3 separate regions of the Homo sapiens genome follow, and regions 1 and 3 are each linked to region 2. The links are contacts of gene promoters, found by promoter capture Hi-C in blood cells and fetal thymus (Javierre and others, 2016). All regions are on one chromosome and are shown on one strand. Each heading gives the region's core, a stretch centred on a gene start or on the middle of the fragment in contact. The rest is flanking DNA. Distances are from core to core; before and after follow the strand shown.

Region 1 (2,700 bases), core at 86-2,585, 550 kb before region 2:
CAAGTCACAACAGTAATGGAAGGCTGCTGTGACTGAGACATCTTATGAAGTTCCATTTAGCTAAAGGCCAAATATCCAATATATTTCCAATTCAATTTGCTTATAAACATATGTCCTAGAAATTGTTTGAGATTCAGTTCATTCATTGAACATTGACTATTAACTCCCCATAAATAGTTCAGAAAGGAGAGATACAGTGAGAGGAAACTGAATTCTGAAAGAACTGGCTGGTGGAGTAGAAGTAACTAGAACCTTCAGAGAGGAAGGCTATGAGATTTTCAAGTTTGTGATGACCCATGAGGTGAAGATTAGACATGATCAGACATACGGTCAAGACCCACAGTTTCCAAGTGGTAGTTCATGTGCCGGCTGCTCTTCATAATTACCTGGAGCACTTGTAAAACAACATGAATTCCCAGTGCCCAGTCCCTGATTCAGTCCCTCTGGAAGCACACCCCAGATGTCTATATTTTTAACAAGGATCTCAGATTATCTCAGATTATACTAATGCAGTCAGACCCAGGAACCACTGACTGTGAGAAGGTAGTGTTCAAAGATGTTAGAGACCTGAAGGGCATGACTCCAAGCTCCCTATTATATACGACATATGGAGGGGGGAAGAGCTCTCAAAAACGTGTTTCTGGTTGCATCATCACGCATGCTCCCTCAAGGCAGGGCAGAGACAGCCAAGGAAGCAAGTGGGCCACCCGGGGAGCTCCCTGAGGAGCTGAGATGCAAGGAGAACACATACCTAACCCAAGGATGGGGTTTAAAAGGCAGCCCCGACCTGTAAGAAAGACAGCAAAAAGGAATCAAGGACAATGGAAAGGGCTCTCTGAGCTCTGCTCAGGCCAAGAATAAGGGCTGGGAAGAAATGACTCACTGATGTGGAAGGCAGTGCAATGTCAAGACGTGACGCAGAGGAAACAAGGATGCTCAACTCCAGTTCTGTTTCTCCTGTCTCCAAAAAGAACAATCCTCCTGGCTGTAGGGGAACAGAAGCCCCAGCCAAGGGAGTAGTGTAGAACTGATTATCCAGCTGCTTTAAATTACAACAGAGAAGCAGCATGCCAGAGTGGAAAGGGCCTAGGCTTTGAGTCAGACCAACTCAGACAGAGCTGTTTCTCTTCCACCTCTCAGGACCTCTGGTCATTTCTAAATGGAGAATAACAATTCCTACCTCAGGTTTGCCAGGAAATAACATATCCACAGGGCCTAGCACACAGCGGACAGTGGATAAGGAGAAGCACAGGAAATATCACATACCCAGGGCCTAAAGAAATAGCAATCTAGAAGAGGAGTCCTTAGACCACGGCAGGCACTGGTCAGACTACATCTAGAATATCACACTCCAAGTCTGGTCCAGGGCAGAACTTGAAGAATACATTGAGAAACTAGCGCTGAGCCTAAGAAGACTAAGTAGCAGCTTAAAAGGCTTGTGATCCATGCACATGAGAAGGTGATGTTCAGCCCAGAGAACAGAGCACTCAGAGAGGGCATGAGGGACTTAAATTCCAGAGCTGTCAGGAGTAGGGGAGATTGACTTTTTCCATGGGCTAGATGTGGAGGGAGAGGATCAGCAGATGCACATTTTAGAGAAGCTCACACAGCTGCAAAAGAATACAAAGGATGTCTTCCAATGAAATGAGCTCTCAGTCACAGAAAGCAAGAGCCAGTTTAAGCAAGGGCCAGACACTACAGTTAGGGATGCTGCAGAAAGATGACTGTGGAGCGGTTCTGCACCTGTGTAGCTATTCTGGGGAGGACGGTGGTGTATGTGGGTGAGAGGGGAGGGTGGTCATGTTGAATAACTGAGGTTGTATAAGATTGTGATTATGGCCAAAACCATGTAAGAATTAATCTTTTAATCTGGAGCATTTTTTTCTTTATAAATAGTTCTACGTTACTTATATTTCTTGGTAATCAAATTGGCGTCTTAAACCTTGAGCCTGTGAGCTGGGTGTGTTTCCAAAGGAGCAGGTGGTCACTTACAGGTGTGCTTTAGAAACACCTGCGAATGACCTCTGTGACGCTGAGGTGGGAGGGGGGACTGCTGAGCGATTTAACAGCTGACGCCATAGGAAGCCTTTCAGTTCACAAAGGGACCACACCAACCCCAGGCTCAAGGGACTGTGTTGCAGAGCACCTGGGCAGGGGAGCAGGCAGAAGACTTTTGCTATACAGTTCAGATGGCCCAAGGAATGGCTGCCCACTTGAAGAACCAACTGCTACAAATATGGAAGAGTAGAGAAGCCCCTTATATAGATGCAGACGTGCAGAAAAGATCTTTCTCTTACGCAGATGTGGAGGAGCAGAGATGCCCCATTTTACCGTGAAAATATAAAATGACCCTCTCAGGCAGAAGTCAGCAAGCAATGAGAAGCTCCATGTTTCATATGGACATGGAGGCAGGGGACAGAGAAGGGAAATGCCATCAGCCTCACAATACATTTTCCATATAATGTTATAAATGGTGGTTGGGTGTGGCTGAAATCATGCTAATTATATGAATCTTCATTTCTTTATGGGCTCAACATTTTGTGCACTGGCCTAAAAACTTAATCCTCTTCCACAACAGGCTTCCCTGGAGAAGATCAGTCCTAATGGAATTTTTATAACATAACTTGTTCATCAAAGCGGGACTGAGTGTACACTTGTGTTTTTTTAACCATGACATATCAGCACAGAAAGGATGAGAGC
Region 2 (2,700 bases), core at 140-2,639:
CTAGTCCTTGGGTAGTTACCATACAACAGGTTCTTCTTTTTGTTAGTTTCGTTGAAAAGGGATTTTTGGTCCCAAGTCTGTTCCTGCTTAGTATCTGCTCCGGCCTCCTCCTCTCTCCAAGCGGCCTCCTAGACGGCCTCCGCCCCTGGGCACCCTGCAGCCTGACCGGCTGTAAGAATCACGCTGGGGAGGGCAGCCCCTTTCCATGGACAGAGAGAGCCCACGATCTGGTCTGCCCACCCGGTGTCGGCCCCTCGAGTAGCGGTCGCTCCGGCCATAACTGCTGCTGTAACTGTCGCGGCCGCCGCTGTAGGCATCGGGTGAGTAGCCCCGGTACTCCTCGTAGCGGCCTCCTCCTCCGTAAGATGGCGGTGTCCCCCGTCCTGGGGCGGCGCCGCGCAGCTCTCCGTAGCTCTCAAAGGGCTCTCGATGGGAGCCTCTGCTCAGATGATCCCCGTAGTCACGGTCGCGACCTCCGTAGCCGTCTCGGTCGCTGTAGCCTCTCAAGGGACAGTCGTCCCGGACACTGGAGTGGCCGTAATCGCGGTGGGTGTACTCTCCGGGCGAGGGGGCAAAACCCCGGGGTTCGCGGTAGTCTCGGCTCGAGTAGCCGTCTCTGGACGAGTAGCCCTCATCCCGCGGGCCCAGGTAGGGGTCGCGGCGCGGGGGCAGCGGCTCCCGGCGCGGTGGGCCTGAGTAGCCGTCTCGCCCCCGCACGGCCAGGGCCCTCCCGCGCATTCCACCGCCGCTGCTGCGAGCCGGGCCCGACGGCGCGGCCCTCTTGGGGGGTGGGCCGACCCTGCGCGGCGGCGGCCCACGCTTCATGGGCATCGGGGCCCTGGAGGGCCGCAGGTCGAAATCCGCCGTGTAGCCGCCGTCATCATCGGGCCCGCCCCGGGATGGGGAACGCCGCGGGCCGCCGCCACCCCCGCGGGTTCCGCGCAGGAACCTCGGGCGACCGCGGCTGCGGGGAGGCGGCGGGCCCCGCCGGCTGCTCTCGAACGCCGGTTTGGTGGCCTGGGCCACCTTGATGGCCTTACCATCCAGGGACTTGCCGTTCATGTCTCTGGCGGCGGCCTTGGCGTCTGCGGGGCTTTCAAAGGTGACGAACGCGAAGCCCCTCGACTTGTTGGTTTCTCGGTCTTTCATCAGGAGCACCTCGACGATGCGGCCATACTTGCCAAACTCGGCTTCGAGGGCTTTCTCGTCGGTTTCGAGGTTGAGGCCCCCAATGAACAGCTTCCCCGGGCGATCCGCTTCAACCATGTTTGCCGGTCGAACGGTCGGTCAGTGGCGGTGGGAGGCGGTGAGGCGGCGCCAGTCGCAGCCTTCGAGCTCGCTCGTCGAGGGCGGCTCCTACTGGTCAGGCGGCGCCTAGTCGCCGAGTCCACGGAACCGCAGCCGGAGCCCCGCTGCAGGGCGCGCCCCTGCTGCCTGTGATTGGTCGGCTGTTTCCAGAGGGCCAATTCGCCGTCGGGAAAGTCGGCAGTTTTGTGTCTCCTTTTCAGTCTTTAACTTCCTGTTCACCTGACCCGGTCTTAACGGCTTCAATGGCCTCCTGAAAGCTCAGGGAAAAGCCGTTAGGTGGAAAAAAATTTTTTTCTATTAGTTTTAATGAGAACAATTGTAATGATCCCAAACCTAAGCTACCCAAACCATTTTCAAACAGAAAAAAATAGTATGAATTTTTTAAATTACTAAAATTATTAAGTTAAAAATCATTTTTCAATTATTGAAAAATAGAGTAATAACAGTTAACAAGTTTAAATTTTACCTTACTGATCTTTTTAAACTAATCAGCTTTTAGCCTCGTCTATCCTCTGTTTTGATTTTATTTGGTGCTATTGTCTTTATTCTTTCTACATTTATTGGATTTATTGTTTATATTATTTTGTTCTAATTTTTTAAATAAGACACTTAGCACATTAAGAGTTTAAAAAATGTTTCTTCTAATTGTTATATTTAAGGTTAAAACTTATTCTCTATGCACTGGTTAATATCATGCCTTGAGCTGTAATATATGTTGTTTTCATTGTTGTTCAGTTCCTAAGATTTTCTCATCTTTGTTATTTCCTTTTTGGACCATGTATTAAAGAAGTATGTTTGTAAATTTTCAAACATATGTGCCTGTTGGTTATTTTTTAATATGCTCTGTACGATATCCATTGTTTTTCGTTGAGACTTGCTTTGTGACCTAATATGGTGTAATTAATGTTCCATATATACTGAGCAGAAAGTGTATTCTCTAAATGTTGGACAAAGTTCTTTCTTATTTTCTGATATTTAAATCTTCCCTTTTCTAACTTGTTTTTTATTTGATAGAATTGCCAAACACTAGAACTGTCTTAAAATTTACCATAATTGTGGATTTGTAAATTTCTCTTTGTCTTTATGTCTGGTTTTTGCTTCATGTAATTTAAGGTTATATTGTGAGATATATAAAAATTGAGAATTGCTACGTATTTCTGGTGAATACCTTTTTTATGTAATGATCCTCCTTATTCGTAAAAACCTTTTTACCTTAGTCCATTTTGTGTGATGCTTATAACTTTCGGTACTTTTGCAATTTCTTCCTAAATCTTTGCTATCAGCCAAACCTTTCCTTCTTCCTTTTTTCCATCTTTCTTGCCTTTTCTTGTAGTAAGTGATTTGTCTTTGTTTCTTTTTCCTCCACTATGGAAGAAGTTATGCCTTCTATTT
Region 3 (2,700 bases), core at 150-2,649, 890 kb before region 2:
CAGTTGTAACAATCATACACCTTGGTTCGTGATATGCTGACTTTTTGGGTCCAGTCATGAACCTCTTTGTTTACATTCATTCATTCTTTTTAAATAATATAATGAGCAGACATTACTACCTAAACTAAGAACCTTGTTCATTTAAAAAATAATGAACAGAACTTACTACTCAAACCAAGAACTGGAACACTAGCAACAGCTTACATTCAGTGGTATACTGGTAAATGTTTAACAACCAGCCTCTTGGTTTCAGTATTTGCCAGTTTCCATGGTGTAAATACTCCCACCATGGCTGATTTCAGGCTACCAGTGGTTTGACAAGGGGCTCTTGAAAGTCCTAAAAAATTTAACAATTGGCTTTTGAGACACTATGAGTTATATCCATCAATATTTCACTGCCTTACTGCCCCACCCCTAGAAATAACTACTCACCTGAATTTTGTATCCATCATTTGCATAAAAATGATAGTTTTATTTCAAATATATATGCATGACTAAACAATACATTGTTGAATTTTGCTAGTTTTTGAGCTCAATAAAAAGTGTATCATACTGAAAGTAGTAATTTTTTGAACTTTCTTTTTTCTTTTCAACCTTAGTTTACTGATGTGTATTCATGTTGTTGCATAGAACTGCAGCTCATTCTTCATTTTCACTGATGTATAATAGTATTTTGTATAAATATACCACAATTTATTTTCCATTTTATTGTTGGTGGACATGTGGCTTGCTTAAATTTGTTGATATTATGAAAATTGGTGCTTTAAACATCCTTTTATATATGTATTCTTGGGCACCTGGGAGTTAGTGGTATGGGCTGAATTTTGTCTCCTCAAAATTCTGTGTTGAGTTCTAACCCCCAATATGACTGTATCTGAGATAGGGTCTTTAGGAGGTAATTAAGGTTAAATGAGGTTGTTAAGAGTGGGGCCCTAATCCAATAAGCCTGTGGCCTTATAAGAAGAGTCTTTCTGTGTGTCTCATGTGAGGACACGATGAGAAGGTGGCCATGTGCAAGGCAGGAACAGAGCCCTCACTGAACCTGACCATGCTGTCAACTGCTGCCAGACTTCCACCTTCCAGAACTGTGGGAAAATAAACTTCTGTTGTTTAAATCACCCAGTCAGTGATATTTTGTGTCTCATTTCAATGTGTCAGTCTGAACAGACTAAGACAACTGGGTTGTAAGATATGTGAATATTCATACTTACAAGATAATGCAGACTTGTTTTCCAAAGAGGCTGTTCCAATTTACATGCCTTCTAACAGTATATAAAAGTTCCCATTGATGAATAAACTCTGTCATGTTTTAGTTTTTCCCTCAACTGTAAAAAATGGATGGATAGTTAATGGTATCTATTTGTGTGCTTAATTTGCATTTTCCTGATTACTAATGAGGTTGAAATCACTTCATATGTTTAGTGGCCATATGTATTTGAATCCTGTTAAAAAAAATCTCTCCATATGCTTTACTATTAGGTTGTTTTCTACTAGGTTCTATAGGTTGTTTTCTATTTATTATTTATTTTTGAGAGGGACTTTTTTTTTTAAAGACTTCAGTACATATTTTTATACCAATCCTTTATCAGTCATAAATGTTACAAATATATGCTCTAACTTTTCAGCTTTTCCTTTCACTTTCCTTAAGGTGTATTTTGAAGAACAGATCTTAATTTTAATGTAGTTAAATTTACCAATCCTTTATCTTATGGCTAGGACTTTTATGGGTCTTGTTTAAGAAATTCTTCCTATATGAATACCAGAGACAGGCATTTTATCTACGTATTTTTGATGTTTTTTAAAGTATTGTTTTTATCCTTCAATCTATGTGGGATTTTTAAATTCTATTTTTTGAATTGTCCTTCCTTTCCCTATTCATCTACCGTGCCATTAAAAGAAAAATACAATTGTTCACCACATAGTGATGTTTAGGTCAATGATGGACTGGGCGTGGTGGCTCATGCCTGTAATCCCAGCACTTTGGGAGGCCGAGGTGGGCGGATCATGAGGCCAGGAGATTGAGGCCATCCTGGCTAACATGGTAAAACCCCGTCTCTACTAAAAATACAAAAAAATTAGCCGGGCGTGGTGGTGGGCACCTCTAGTCCCAGCTACTCGGGAGGCCGAGGCAGGAGAATGGCGTGAACCCAGGAGGCGGAGCTTGCAGTGAGCCGAGATCGAGCCACTGCACTCCAGCCTGGACGACAGAGCAAGACTCTGTCTCAAAAAAAAAAAAAGTCTTGGTTATTCTTGGCCCTTTGCTCTTTCCTGTAACATGCTGTACAGGTTTGTAGCGTGGGAGCAATAGGCTATGCCATAAAGTCTAGGTGTGTGGTAGGCTATACCATCTAGGTCTGCGAAAGTACTCTATGATGTTCACACAACAACAAAATTACCTAATAATGAATATCTCAGAATGTATCACCATCATTAGGCAATGCATGACAGTGTATCACAGTTTCATAGTGTCTGGTAGTGTTTCTGGCTCTTGTTTCTATTTTGTCCACTCTGAACCATTGCTGTGCCATATTAATGGCTACATCTCTAGTTTAATTTTAATTTTTTTTTTTTTTTTGAGACAGAGTCTTGCTCTGTCACCCAGGCTGGAGTGCAGTGGCTCGATCTCAGCTCACTGCAAGCTCCGCCTCTCAGATTCGCGCCATTCTCCTGCCTCAGCCTCCCGAGTACCTGGGACTACAG

The links. The method cuts DNA at HindIII sites, captures the fragments that hold promoters and counts their contacts. A CHiCAGO score of 5 or more calls a contact.
Region 1: a fragment that was not itself captured here is called in contact with the fragment with the promoter of RBMXL2 in region 2 in 2 of 17 cell types (naive B cells and total B cells); the score reaches 5.4 in naive B cells.
Region 3: a fragment that was not itself captured here is called in contact with the fragment with the promoter of RBMXL2 in region 2 in 3 of 17 cell types (M2 macrophages, M0 macrophages and M1 macrophages); the score reaches 9.3 in M2 macrophages.

What each region holds. Positions count from the first base shown.
Region 1 is chr11:7,635,921-7,638,620 of GRCh38, reverse strand. The region is part of intron 14 of PPFIBP2 (PPFIB scaffold protein 2); the gene reads right to left. Among named protein-coding and RNA genes, the nearest start is that of CYB5R2, 36 kb to the left of the region's middle. The HindIII fragment of the contact is 4,983 bases long and covers 1-2,700 here.
Region 2 is chr11:7,087,687-7,090,386 of GRCh38, reverse strand. RBMXL2 (RBMX like 2) reads right to left here and starts at 1,389. Exons shown (of 1, transcript NM_014469.5): 1 at 1-1,389. The coding sequence starts at 1,266. The coding sequence ends at 88. It also overlaps a transcript of NLRP14 not described here. The HindIII fragment of the contact is 13,917 bases long and covers 1-2,700 here.
Region 3 is chr11:7,980,295-7,982,994 of GRCh38, reverse strand. No RefSeq gene overlaps it. Among named protein-coding and RNA genes, the nearest start is that of EIF3F, 5.7 kb to the left of the region's middle. The HindIII fragment of the contact is 4,433 bases long and covers 1-2,700 here.